Linked DNA regions of Homo sapiens: regions 1, 2, 3 and 5 are each linked to region 4. The links are contacts of gene promoters, found by promoter capture Hi-C in blood cells and fetal thymus (Javierre and others, 2016). All regions are on one chromosome and are shown on one strand. Each heading gives the region's core, a stretch centred on a gene start or on the middle of the fragment in contact. The rest is flanking DNA. Distances are from core to core; before and after follow the strand shown.

What was found. The method cuts DNA at HindIII sites, captures the fragments that hold promoters and counts their contacts. A CHiCAGO score of 5 or more calls a contact.
Region 1: the fragment with the promoter of LNPK here is called in contact with the fragment with the promoter of DNAJC10 in region 4 in 1 of 17 cell types (non-activated CD4 T cells); the score reaches 11.6 in non-activated CD4 T cells.
Region 2: a contact is called between the fragment with the promoter of ATF2 here and the fragment with the promoter of DNAJC10 in region 4, in 3 of 17 cell types (activated CD4 T cells, naive B cells and non-activated CD4 T cells). The highest score is 7.1, in activated CD4 T cells.
Region 3: a contact is called between the fragment with the promoter of OSGEPL1-AS1 here and the fragment with the promoter of DNAJC10 in region 4, in 1 of 17 cell types (fetal thymus). The highest score is 5.5, in fetal thymus.
Region 5: a contact is called between the fragment with the promoter of WDR75 here and the fragment with the promoter of DNAJC10 in region 4, in 3 of 17 cell types (total B cells, naive B cells and total CD4 T cells). The highest score is 14.3, in total B cells.

Annotation. Positions count from the first base shown.
Region 1 is chr2:176,000,914-176,003,613 of GRCh38, forward strand. LNPK (lunapark, ER junction formation factor) reads right to left here and starts at 1,354. Exons shown (of 13, transcript NM_030650.3): 1 at 1,247-1,354. RefSeq lists an enhancer at 1,548-1,767. The HindIII fragment of the contact is 1,642 bases long and covers 327-1,968 here.
Region 2 is chr2:175,166,800-175,169,499 of GRCh38, forward strand. ATF2 (activating transcription factor 2) reads right to left here and starts at 1,404. Exons shown (of 14, transcript NM_001880.4): 1 at 1,251-1,404. MIR933 (microRNA 933) reads right to left here and starts at 910; the gene lies at 834-910. RefSeq lists a silencer at 1,353-1,422. The HindIII fragment of the contact is 6,773 bases long and covers 1-2,700 here.
Region 3 is chr2:189,761,369-189,764,068 of GRCh38, forward strand. It overlaps OSGEPL1-AS1 (OSGEPL1 antisense RNA 1), which reads left to right and starts at 1,412. Exons shown (of 2, transcript NR_102429.1): 1 at 1,412-1,624. OSGEPL1 (O-sialoglycoprotein endopeptidase like 1) reads right to left here and starts at 1,424. Exons shown (of 9, transcript NM_022353.3): 1 at 1,317-1,424; 2 at 52-292. The coding sequence starts at 272. It also overlaps a transcript of ANKAR not described here and a transcript of ORMDL1 not described here. RefSeq lists enhancers at 907-1,066, 1,353-2,099. The HindIII fragment of the contact is 3,776 bases long and covers 1-1,499 here.
Region 4 is chr2:182,714,904-182,717,603 of GRCh38, forward strand. It overlaps DNAJC10 (DnaJ heat shock protein family (Hsp40) member C10), which reads left to right and starts at 1,354. Exons shown (of 24, transcript NM_018981.4): 1 at 1,354-1,580; 2 at 2,113-2,169. It also overlaps a transcript of PDE1A not described here. RefSeq lists enhancers at 837-986, 1,007-1,076, 1,421-2,025 and a silencer at 1,587-1,746. The HindIII fragment of the contact is 1,821 bases long and covers 87-1,907 here.
Region 5 is chr2:189,440,159-189,442,858 of GRCh38, forward strand. It overlaps WDR75 (WD repeat domain 75), which reads left to right and starts at 1,316. Exons shown (of 21, transcript NM_032168.3): 1 at 1,316-1,420. The coding sequence starts at 1,335. It also overlaps a transcript of COL5A2 not described here. RefSeq lists enhancers at 182-880, 652-811, 832-1,051, 1,312-1,441, 1,462-1,691 and 1 more. The HindIII fragment of the contact is 5,353 bases long and covers 1-2,700 here.

The DNA of each region.
Region 1 (2,700 bases), core at 104-2,603, 6.7 Mb before region 4:
GGTAAGTCAATTTTCATCTGAACTAAATACCACCAAAAAATTACTATTTGATTATAAATGTTTCTATGTGAAGTCATATATTTTTAATAGCCATATAACTTCTCCTTTTCTTGTATTTTCTTGTTTATATAACATATAAACACTATATAAGTTTACTAACATCATTACTGAGCTGATCTCAATAGATAACAGACAACCTTAAAATTCTAATTTAAACGCACCACTCCTGTTTAAGAAAATGTGTTAAAAGTCAACTTGGTCTTCTGGGGGCTGCTGAGGAAAAGAAATGAGCATTCCCTGCCAGTTTGAACATATTCCTGAAACCAAGCTTACTCACACCCACCAAACCGCTGTTGAATAGAGTCAATTTTGTCAATGCTGACACCCAGGCCATAAAGAAAGGAGGAAACAGTAGACACCGAGCAACACACACCGGAGGCCAACTGGGAAAAGCAGAACACGGAAAACTCAGTGATTCACGGGTCTTGCTTAGTACTGTGAAAGCACCATCAGCAAAGCTGAGTTGACCAATTTCAACTCTTTCTCAATCCGTAAACTATGAACTGACGGAATTTAGATTTGTTTTTCTCCTCCTACCACGCCTCTGATACAATGCACCTTCGCCCTTCCCCTCCACCCCACAGCCCACCATCCCTGAAATAAGGACAATGGTTGGAGAGTCTCTTCTCTAAGTAGCACGTACTCCACGCCCACACGCTAGAGCCCGGCAGCATGACACTGACAGTTTTCAGTCCCTTCTGGTCTTTCTAACTCTTGGAGCCTCCGCACAACTCAGAAAGAGAAGCGGAGAGAACGCTCAAAGCGGACAGCTGAGCGTAGGAAATGCTAGTTTGGGACCTTCTGACCTCTTTGCCCCACCTGTGTCGAGATAAGCTCGACACAAGTGGGCCAAAGAGCTGGGGCTCAAGCCAGTCACCACCCGGAATCTCCTAGAACCGAGCTGGAGAAACTACCAGCCCTAGAGGGGAAACAAGGGTTTCAAGACTCCAGCGCCACCACTGCCAGTGTGCTGGGAAATCCAGGGAACAAGGCGGCGAGCCTGGGTCTGCGCGGACCACCGCGCAGCCTGACTAGCAGCCGCCGCAGAGCTCTAGGCCACTTGGCAGGAGGCGGGGGCACCAAGGAGAGGCAAGCGGGGAACCCGCAGCTTATTTCCCAGGGGCACAGCTCAGCATGCCTCCCCGCTGCAGAGCCCTCCCAACTGCCCTCGCCTTGAGCGTTCTACCTGCAAGAAGCGGGCGCAGCCCGGCCCGGGCGTCCACCCCCGCCAGTCTCGGCCGCCACCGCCCAGCCTGCCTCCAGAGCAGGCAGCAGCCGCCACTGACAGAGAGACAAGCCGGGCCAACTCCTTCCCATGAAACCCCGCGCTCCAGCCGCTCGCCAATTGGCGCCGCGGTCGGCGCGCGCCGCTCCCCCGTCACGTGACCGTACCCTGGGCGGGTAGTTGTTGGGGCGGGTCGGCCGGGAGGTTAGGATCTTGTGTTTGTGGCCTCCGCAGCCAGCTTAGGCTGCTCGGTGTCGTGTCGCAGTTATGTACTGCCATTTATTATGACTCTTAGAATATAGTTATTTCTTACTCTTCCGCTGCCTCCTTTGCTTTTAAAGCCTGTTCTGCCAAGTCTCGCTGGAGAAGGAAACCCCTGAAACTGGTCCTGGTGGTCTCAGACCGCCGCGCGAGCGAAGAGTGGGGAGGACAAAGGTTGGGGAGTTGAGAAGGATGGAGATGGGTGCATCTGGAAGGGAGTCCGTCCTGAGGAGTCCCCCATCAGCTGTCAGCCAGCCAGCAGCAAAGCAAATTAAGACTACACAGCTCCGAAGAAGCCAGTTCCCAACCAAGCCAGTGGAGAAAAGTCAGCCCGGTCCCCAGGAGTGCTTGAGGCTCTGTCACTCTTGGACGTCAAAAAGGGTCATTTGATGACTGGACGCTTACCTCACCGGTGTGAGGTAAGCTTCAAACGCCGTATCATGTTGCTTTAAAACCTGCGGGTAACAGCATAAGCTGAGTTTTCTATCTTAGAACTCTTAACCCCAAGAACACTCTTCACAGGCCCTGATAGGTGGACCCACAAAAAAACCACTCAGGCTATATTTGACTCGGATTTGAAACGCTGCCGAAACGGTATTAAGTGTCCTCCTCAACTGGAAAAGACAAATAACAAATGATGCCTGAATGAGAAAAAGACTAGACGTGCACACAGTAATGTGTGAGCAGGGAAACTTCAGCGAAGGTTTTTATCATGCTTTACCCCTTTTACATGCTTTACCCCATGTGCAAACATTTTTCATGGGTTTTTTTCTATTTTTTATTTATTTTTATTCTATTTTTTTATTTATACACAAAAAAGTTTCAATGATTTTTTAAAGAGTAATAGTTTTAATATGTTACATTTAAACTTTGACGATGCAAACAGGTTGTCAAGAGAAGCAACTGAGCATTGTTTGGTTGGTAAGAAAATTTATTATACTAGAAGCTACCGCATAATTCACTGTGCAATTTGCTTGCCCTAATTGCCTAAATATTTAGTTACAGTTCTGTACACTTGCAAGGATGAGGGGAAGGGAACTGAAGTTTAGCGTGTCACTGTGGATCAGGCACTTTCCAAATGTAGAAGAAAATGAACAGAAACATTTCACCTGTTTTGATGTGGAAATTTAACCGTTTTGTTTTTCAACCTTTGC
Region 2 (2,700 bases), core at 154-2,653, 7.5 Mb before region 4:
GATTTTAAATGTATATCTTAAATGCATGCATTGTGACCGTCTCCATAATTTAAAACCTCTAAGAAATTTAAACTTTCACATTATAATTTAGGGATTAGTCAATCCCTTAGTACCAGTTAAATAATAGCCAGGAAAGCATTAGAAAACCTGAAGGTACATGTAAAGAAATGCTTTACATCACTATTTAAAATAGGTGTTGAATTTTAAGAGAAACATTTCTTTCACTAAAATTTCTGATGCCTAAGGTCCATCAGGAGTAATCTCTTTTACTCCATGATATTCACAGTAGTTTTGCTCTTGGCCTCACCAGTTTTAAGACTCTCCATTAAAGAAAGCCAATTTTATACTACCTAGGGGCACAAAAATAGTTCCCAGCTCCTCCTCTCTTTTTCCTCCTAGGTTCGGTTAAACGAGCGAACATAGAAAACACGTACACACACTCCCTTTCGGCCCTGGTCCCTAGGGCATTGATGAAAAGCAAATTATTTCTTTACATACGCTCTGCTGTCCACCCAGAGATTTAAAAAAAAAAAAATAAGGGAAAATACCAGAATCAGTCTGCACCCACACCTAAGCCCCGCCCCACCGGGAAAAAGCTGGGGGTAGCGGGATTGTGAGGGTGGCGGAAAGGACGGAAAAGGCCGAGACTTCCAGCTCCTAGGTTCTCCACACCATTCTTTCCTTCAAGCTGCACCGCAGCCAGGGACCCTGATTCTATTTTCAGCCGCGCCTCCCGATCCTCCTCCCCGCCACCATCACCAATACACGGTCCTCAATCGCTTGAATACTGGGTGGGGAGACCAGAGTGGGCCCTCTCCCCGCCCAACCCAAGGACTGTGGGTGGGAGAGGTCTCCCTGCGCACACGGCTGACTCGACGCGCGCCCCGAGGACCTCTGAACTGACCCAAGTAGGGTGAAGATAATTCGGAGGGAGGGGTCTAAGAGGGAGCCGTTATTCCTTTTTCCTCTGCCTTAGGAAAGCGCGCGAGAGGGAGGGGCCGGAACAACGAACGCTGGTTACCTAACGGTCCGGCCCAGCCAGTCAGGTTCCCAAAGCCCACACCGCGCGGGCCGCCGAGGTGGCAGCACAGCCACAATCGCCCCAAGGGCTAAGGAGCACGTCAGGAGCACCCGAGGTGATGGGAAACGGGGGGTGGGGACTGTGCTGAGCGACGTCGCCATGTTAGCGCCTTCTTTCTCCGTATCCCTACAGTCTCCAGCCCTGCTGACCTCTGCCCATCGTTACTCACCTTTCCAGGTCACTAGTTCATGATCCTTTCGGTCACCCGCGAGCCCTGAGCACAGCCGTGTTTACAAAGCACCCCTGGAGGAAAAGGCTGAACGGCACTTTAAAGGCCACGGGCTCCCACAGGCTTCCGTCCTCTCTCGCGAGATCGGACTGACAACCCCCGCCCGCTCGCCCCGCTCCCGGCATCCCCACCTTCCTTCTGGCGCCCCTCCCCTTCACCCACACGCCCCTTCTTGCCTTCCTTCTGAGGGAGCGCCTCCGAGTCAGGTGATTCCGTCAGGCTTAAGGAGAAGAAGGCGGGTCTTCGGCAGGGCGGGTAGAGGGGACGGGCATCAAAGAGCACTCGGGCGCTCATGATTGGACAAGGAGCCCGAAGGGCGGGAAGCAGTTCTGGAGGGGGCGGGACCAGAGGGCCCAAGGAGCGTTACTTCTGTAAACCCGGAGCTGTGGAAGACTGTGATTGGCTGTCGGCTGGAGGAGGGCGCGGGTGCAGGCGGCGGTGAAGGGCTAGGCAGGGCTTTGGCGGTGTGAGGGGAGGAAAGGTGGTGAGCTCCGGAAAGGCTGCTAGAGGGAAAGCAGGATGGGTCCTCCGAGCCCAGCCCCAGGAGCCGGGTGTCTCCGTTTCCGTCACTTCCCAGCACTAGGTAGGGAGGTGGGTAAAAGTAGGCTGCGTTCCTCAGCCCACCCCTTGGCTCCCCGGGAGCCTGAGGCGGGGAGCTTCGGGTTAGGTGAGGTTTGGGGGAGGCGGAGTTTGCTGGTAATTGCCCATCCCTCCCCTCCAAAAAACCCCACACAACTTAAAGATTTTAATATTAACTGTAAGGATGTTGGTTATTCAATAAATAGGCACAAGTTGAAAAGTATGATCAGAGGCCTCTGTGAGAATTTACATTATTCAATAAAAGATTTTCAGTGTCTTATTTTTTCCATTTATTAAATACTGATTTCTAGTCTGGAACAAAATTATGAACTAGTTTATATATTAACATAAAATACACTCTCAAAATTGTTGAAAGGTTTTGGGGGATAGTATGAGAGTTAATGAGCCTGAAGTTCAAGAATGATATCTGGCATAAAAGTGAAATTGTAATGGCATTGACATTTTAACAGGTAGGTCTCTGGACCGCATACATGTGTATAAGCCAACTCAGTCCTCTTTTAAAACTAATTTTAGTTAAGAAACATTAAGCCAAATTATTAACACTTTCCTACTTAAAATGAAAGTACCGTCCCCATATAGTAACAGTAATGTAGTAGTGCCATTGTAGTGTAACACTAATTATGTCAGCAAAACCTCACAGTTCAGATTACTCATGATGGAAATGGTGGACAAAATGTTTGATTGACATCACAATTGTTAGGTCTAGAACGCATTGATTAAATAGATGCTTCTCTCTCCATCTCCCAAAACAACTAATGTGAGAAAAAGAACTGCAAATGTTACGACATTT
Region 3 (2,700 bases), core at 162-2,661, 7.0 Mb after region 4:
GATTTTACTTTTTCCAAAAAAGTGGAAATGACTAAGATAATGTCTACTTACTTTAAATGAACTTCAGTTTGGGAATGTATTGCTTCTCCCAACACATTTCCAGTTTCATCCACCACAGCAGCTGCTGTATCATCACAACTAGTTTCAATTCCCAATACTATTTTATGAAGAAATAGTGTTCCAGGATGAAAATTAAAACTTCTTAAAAATTCATAAACTTTCCTTTTTGATGGTTTAAAAAAAACTCCTGCAGTCTTAGTCAAGATTAGCATACTTACTCTATAGATAATTCCTGAAAAAGAATTACAGAAACAACTTATTATTTGCAACTGACATTAGCCAGCTTATTTTTCAATATATAGTTTTACAGAATTACAGGAAAGTTTGTAAAAGTCACCAAAAGTTTGTAAAGGCTATAGCAACATGGGAATATAAATAATATTATGAATGAATATAATGTTCTCCAAGGGGGAAAACAGGGGTCAGATATAAAATTTTTTAGTATTATTATTACTTGCATGCTGTTCCTACCAAAAGACTTACTATTAAGACAGCTAATATAAAGTACAATAATTGATAGAGTCCTCTGAAAAGTGCTATTTATTTTTTGACAGCTAAAATTAAGACAAAATGTGGATTTTCTAAAAAGAATCAAACAACAAAGGCAGATGGAACAGATAAAAATACTGTTAATGTATTCCATCTCCTAAAAACATCTTTCAAAATAAAACTGGATCATTTGGTTCAAAAACAAGAGTTAACATAAACACACACACGCCAACTGCAACCTAACACCTATTTTATCCTTAATTGCAATCTTTGGAATTAAATCTCCACTTTTTGCTACAGGTTTTGTCATAACAAGGATCTTCCCAAATCCTTTTCCCCCAAAATAATAGCAGCCCATCACTAAAGCACACTAGTATTTTCACACTGCGAAGCACCTAATTTTATGCCCCCAGATCATCCGTTCTAAAACTTTCTGGGTGTTAAAGCAGGGCCTTTCTCCACCACACTAAAGGGACACGGCATCCCAGGGATTAGAGATGAGCGACCTATTTGCAGAAGGCAGTTGCGGGCAGTGCAGCCCAGACAGACACAACCTAGAGGAATTAGATTTGCATTAACAAAATCTGGACAAGGAGGATTGTACGAAGCACTACCCTTTCGGGCCAAGAAAGCTGCAGGCTGAACCCACGTGACTTGGGTAGCGCTGGTCTCCTGTCGGCTGTAAGGCGGCGACGGGCGCAAACTGGAACCGCTTTTCCAGGTGCGCAAAAGCGTCAGTGGGGTGAAGAGTGAGCAATTTCACCCACCTTCCACTTGGGCGGCAGTAGCTAGCACTTGTCTCCTTTCCCTACTAAAGACTGTCGACTGCCCTTATCGCTGCAGGAGAAAGCCCGAACCTGGCGCCCGGAAGTGATGTCATCGGAACTGTGCAAGGTCCCGTCCAGAGCTGGCTGCTGTTCCGCTAGCGAGCGGCATGCTTAGTGAAGAAAAGCTTAAAGGCCGTCTTTGCCCAAAACGCTCTCTGTGCGCACCTGCATTTCCCCCAGATTTGCAGGTGATGAGAGTTCTGTAAAATTACACAGCTAGTGACTGATCCAGCGGAGGCCGAATACAGGTTTGTCTGACTACACAACATCAAGTTCCAAACACTAAGCTACATTAAAAAGAAATTTTTTTTTTGCCCTTGGCTGGAATTTGGTTGCTACTGTGAGAAAAGGATGGGGTAGATTATTCGTCATTCATTTTTAAGGGAACTATCATCAAATCTAAACTTAGGGGTGAGGTACCTGATACTTTCATCGGAGAAATAGGATGGAATCTAGCGGCGCCCCCTAGCAGGGTTACCAAAGAACGGAAGTGTTTCTCATCGGACAGTGTAAACCGTTTCTCCCACTTCACTAGGAAGAAAGGGGCTGGCTTATTTTTACAATTAAAAAAAAAAAAAATCGGGAGACTGAGGCAGGAGAACTGCTTGAACTGGGACCCGGGAGGCGGAGGTAGCAGTGAGCCGAGATCGCGCCACTGCACTCCAGCCTGAGCTACAGAGCGAGACTCTGTCTCAAAAAAAAAAAAAAAAAAAAAAAAAAGGCTGTGGTAAATATTCAGTTGCCTTAAACCATCCTATTTTCATAATGCATTATGTTGTCCTTCCTTACTATGTACATGAAATTCAGCATGGTATGTTTTCAAAGTCTTGCACCTGCTTTTTTTTTTTTTTTTCTTTTATTGGTTTGTGAACTTTGTTTTGAACATTGGACAGATTTATTCCAAGAGTCAGGCTTTTCCCCTGCTGGTATTTAAGATTTTAGTAAGCAAGGACCTTAGAATCCACTGTTGTACAGGGCTGGCATATATACCTGCACTTTGCACGTTGTGAAGCTCTGGGTATAAAAGATGAGTAAATCCCATAACAACATGTTGGGAAGCCACAGAGTACAGTCTAGAGGTGGATACAGATAAATAAGTAAATAATTACCAGAATATGGTTGAGGTTTTTTATTTGGAACTTATGTTTTTCAAAAATTTCATTTATGTGTAACAATAATGATAAAGTGGCACTATGTACCAGGCACCTGCTGTAGATTAATTTCTTTCAAAATCCCATGAAATAGTTTCTGTCCTCATTTTACAGGCAACTGGGCCACAGAGTTTGGGTGCTTTGGAGGTCACACAACTAGGAAAAGCAAAGCT
Region 4 (2,700 bases), core at 104-2,603:
TTCTTTCTCCAGTTTTGTATGCTTTGCATCCTCTCTCCAATAGCTGCCAGGATGATCTAAAATACAATCTCAGTCTCTTTTTTAAAAGCTTCCTCATCACCTAAGAGATAGAAATCTATGTCTTCATCTTGGTATAAAAACCTGTCTGTGATCTGGTCCCTGCTTCATCTTCCAGTTTTCTGTTTGTTTTTCAATTTACTTTAAGATTTTGTTACAGTGTGTAACAAAATGGTTACACACTGTGTCATAATGCTTAACATCATAGTCTCTGAAGCCAGGTTGCTTAGATGTGAATCCTAGCTCTCAAATATTTGCCTCAGTTTCCTCAAATGGGAAATAGATATAGGAGCCACTATCTTGTAAGATTATTTGGAGGACTAAATGAGTTACTACATGTGTGCTTAGACCAGTTCCTGAGACATATTAACTACTATTACATCAGGCTGCTTCTAATGTTTGCCTTTGTTCATTCTACTTCCTCTTCTTTCCTACCAAGTATTAGCTTAGCCATAGATCCTGTGTAGTTTTCCAAGTTTTTAGAAGCTGACACTTGATTTACTCCCCGAAACTGTTACCAATCACAACTTATTTCATGTTAGGGTTGATGTTATAAGCAGGTATCCTCTAGGCTCGGTTTTCTCTTTTAAATATAGAAAATGTAGTAAATATAACCACTTCAATTGTTATATTGCTGTGGGACAAAATGCAGTTCCTGTACCATAGCAGTAGGAGATCAAGGTAAGAGAGAACAACGATAACTCCCCAGTTTCTAGCTTGTATGACTCAGAATCCAGAAAATATTGTAGAAGTCTCAAATGCTTGTTGATACACACGCTTACACAAAATTGTAAATGTTTTAATTTCCTTCAAGTTTCCTACTGCCTCTTCAGTCCGCTAGCCTGATACTGCAATCAGTGTCGCTTCAGGCAACTTCTCCTTTCTCCGCCAAATTTCGCCTTTCGGTCTCACCCACCCATCACCCAGACAAATCCTCCAAAGCTCCGTCTTCCCTTTAAAAGACTCTCAGGGAACTCAACCCCAAAACCCACCCTCTGGGTTTCCCCGTCACCCTGGCAACGGAAGCAGGAAGAGGCGGGCTTCGCCATCCACCCTCCCCGCCCGCGGCAGGCGCCGGCCGCATTGGTGAGGGGGCGCGGGCTGCTTGGCCAGGGCAGTTCCCTCAGCTCCGGGTTGGAGCCGGAGCCGGAGCCGGATCCCGCGCACACCGCCACGTCAACCTAAACCTACACCGCCCTCTCCACCCCACCGCCGCAGCGCCCGCTGGGCCCGCAGCGGGTCTCCCCAGGCAGCGTCCTCCACGCCTTTCCCACAATGCTCCGCGCCAGGCCCCGCCCCGGCTCGCCGTGGAGACCGGCGCGTGAGGAACCTACCGGTACCGGCCGCGCGCTGGTAGTCGCCGGTGTGGCTGCACCTCACCAATCCCGTGCGCCGCGGCTGGGCCGTCGGAGAGTGCGTGTGCTTCTCTCCTGCACGCGGTGCTTGGGCTCGGCCAGGCGGGGTCCGCCGCCAGGGTTTGAGGATGGGGGAGTAGCTACAGGAAGCGACCCCGCGATGGCAAGGTGGGCATGGGCCCGGGGCTAGGGCTTTGCTGGAGCCGGTGGTGGCCTGGGCCCTCCGGTCAGGGAGGGGCGGAATGGCTGAGCGCCTGAACCTCCCTTCCTGTGCGCTCTTAAGACCTGGATATTGTGTTCTCGCTCCCCACCTTCCTCCTCCCTGTTATTCACACCACCCTTCCTCTGCCCAGCGATTCCCTCTCAGTTACTTACACTTTCTCCCTAAGTCCGACCTGAGACTTCAGACACCAGCAACACTTAACAGCCCTGTTCCCCCGTGTCTTCATCTTTACCCCTCTCCCCTCTCCCACTCTGCAGTGATGGCAATGCGAAAGCTTGCGCCTTGCATTTACCTGGCGCTTCCACCTGCCCGGTAGCTCGGGCCACGGGCAGTTCGGCCACACCCACGCTGAGAACAACCCCTGGGCGAGAAACATCTTATCCCAAAGTGTTGATTGAGACTATGCCCTCTCTTTTTCTGATGGTTGTTTTCTTGTTTGGATACTTGTTAATCTCTACATCATTATATTTTTCAAAGGTATATTTTTGTGGAATGAAAAGGAAGTATTAGAAATGAGCTGAAGACCATTCACAGGTAAAGAGAAAAATTTTTAAATATACATTTAGGATTAAATGAAAAACAGAAATGAGGTGCGAGGAGCGTTAGATTTTTCAAAGCATTACGATCTCTTTGGAACTAAAATATAGTGGTTGAAATGTGATATGATGAAGTAATGATTGTTTTTGCCCTGCAGAGAGTATGTCTAAATAACCGATTCCCTTCTCTTTTTGTGTTTTGTTTCTACTTACACCAAACATGAACTTTGCAATAAAATTACACTGGTAACTTACAATTGTTTTTCTACTATTTTTAAAAAATGGCCTCTACTTAAATTCAGTATAAGCACCTTCTGAGGAAACTCCGGGAAGAAGATCGACTGCTGTGTAGATTGTCTATTATAACAATATATTTCACTGTCATTTCTGGTAGGGTTATATGAGAAGTAAAAAACCCTATGTTTCCTTCTAGTCCCTCCCAAGGACATTTCCTACAAGTGAATTCTGCTGAAAATGAAAATTAGACAGCTTTAGGAGGTAAAGAAGTAGCTAAAAGGAAGAGGTATTA
Region 5 (2,700 bases), core at 66-2,565, 6.7 Mb after region 4:
TTTATCCCTGATTTTTACAGTGGTGCTGTCCCAGGATATGTCTTGACCTTTGTGAATATTGTATTTCTCCACCATAAATAAACTTATAGGTATAATCATGTGTGGCTTAATGATGGGGATATGTTCTAAGAAATGCATTTTAGGTGATTTCATCATTGTGTGAATATCACAGAGTGTACCTACACAAACCTAGATGGTACAGCCTACTACACACCTAGGCTGTACGTTATAGCTGATTGCTCCTAGGCTACAAATCTGAACAACATGTTACTGTACTCAATATTGCAGGCAATTGTAACAGAATAGTATTTGTGTATTTAAACACATAAAAGGTACAGTAAAAACACAGTATTATAATCTTACGGAATCACCATGTTATATGCATTGATTGAAAGATCCTTATGTGACATGTGACTATATTTGAGACCTTGGTAATTTTGTGGTAAATCCACAAATCAAGAAGCGAAATCAAAATAGGCAACATAATATACAGGGTCCAAGAATATGATACGTGTAAGTTTACAAAGGAAAACTGGAGATAAACTGGCAAAAATAAACATGTTGAGATTTTAGGGGTTCCTAACCCACAGATTCTATTCACTAATGGGAAAAGGTAAAACTCAGGAAACCAGAGACCAGCGCCCTGAAACCTGGCGGGACTGGCCGAATGTCAGATTAGCCCGAGCAGCTACACTGAACGCTGCGGAAGATGCACCAGAATCCCGGAGTAGGAGCCAGATTTCCAAAGGAAGAAAGCTAGGCCCTAGGACTGTGGAGATTCTGTAGTAACCTAAGCGATGTTCACAAGAACAGAAGAACGGCTAATGAGAGGAACAAAAAGCTGTACAAGGAAGAGAAAGCTACCTTTCCACCCAATAACTCAACGCTGCGACCGAGAAAACCAGGGACGCGAGAGGCTCGCGTCATCCTGCAGCGCCGACACCACAGACACTAGAAAGCGACGCCTCCGGTGGGACGACTGGAGGTCACGTGGTACACTATACGCCACCTTTCCCTTCTGGCGGAAAAAGCCATAGAGTCAGGTTGACAAGGCCTGAGAGAAATATGTCTGTATTAAATAATTGTGTATAGGTATATAATAAAAACTGATTGTCTCTAAATCTCTGTTTTGCTTTCACCTTTTCTTACAAGTGTCTTAGTTTGACATTGCCCACACAAAAGGTGCCTGCACGGAAGCGGAGTCCTACCACCGAGTCTCAGGCCTAGAAGGGCCCGGGGGTGGGTTCTGTGGGCTGGGAACAGCCTTATTACCCGGCTCAACGAAGGAAGTTCAGGGCGGGACCAGAGATTGGCCATTCCGCTACTGCGCAAAGATGGTGGAGGAGGAGAACATCCGCGTGGTTCGTTGTGGCGGCAGCGAGTTGAACTTTAGGAGAGCTGTGTTCTCTGCAGATTCTAAGTATGAGGGGCACCGCGCTTTGTCGGCTGAGGGGCGGGGCGTGAGTTTCTCGAGGGTCGGGGAGAAGGAATTGTCAGTCGCGTTCGGACTCGCCCGCCTGGCGGATATCGGCTTTGGGTAGAGCACGCGCCTGTGGGGGATCCCCAGGGTACCTGGGAGGTCCCGTTACCACTGCAGATTGGGTTGCGTCCCCCGATTCCTGGACAGTTTACCTGCAGGTAGATAAAGGCCCTGGAGCCGGTCTCCGTGTCGAGGATCTGGAAGGTGTTCGGGCGGCTGGAAAATGGTCCAGGGGTGGATGTGTATGCCACTACCTTTGCAGTACCTACTCTTTCGTACAGAATCATGTTTTGGAGTGACTAAAACCTAAAACTATTCCGCTTTTTCTACCCACTCCTCACTCCTGAAGCATAGTGCATGAAGCATAGTGCAGTCTTTTCGGAACTTTACATGAAAACAGATGTTAGATTCTTTATGAGATAAAAATACGCTAAGACTTGGTCTCTTTTCTCAGTGTAGCTGGAAACCAAACCACTCCCTGGCTTCAAAATCCACTTCTTACATTATGAAACCTTTGTAAGTTTCTTAATCTTTGCCTCAGTTGCCATCATCTGTAAAGGGGGACAATATTTAGTTCATCTCACGTGGTTATTGGGAGGATTAAATGCCTCAATATGTTAAAACTACAGACAACAATGCCCGGCACATAATGGCTCAATGTATGTAGCTGTAATCATTATTACTGTATTGTCAGGTTTTCAAATAACTTTAGGTAGGGTGGCACTTAATAAAATCAAAAAACCCTTTCTGCCTTAGAAGAGTAGAGATAGTATTTTATGAAAGTTTGTAGCCTCCACAATATTCTTTTTTTTTTTTTTTTTTTTTTTTTTGATGCAGAATCTCACTCTGTCACCCAGGCTGGAGTGCAGTGGCTCAATCTAGGCTCATTGCAACCTCCGCCTCCCTGGTTCAAGCAATTCTGGTGCCTCGGCCTCCTGAGTAGCAAGTATTATAAGCGCGGGCCACCACGCCCGCTAATTTTTGTATTTTTAGTAGAGAGAGGGTTTCGCCATGTTGGCCAGGCTGCCCTGGAACTCCTGGCCTCAAGTGATCTGCCCACCTGAACCTCCCAAAGTGCAGCGATTACAGTGAGCAACTGTGCCCGGCCCACCCCCACAATATTCTGCATATGAGTGTACGACAGGTAGTTGTTGAAGGTAATGCAAGCATGACTGAAAGAGCTTTTATAAATTGCCTTAGAAGCCAAAAAAAAATGAGTC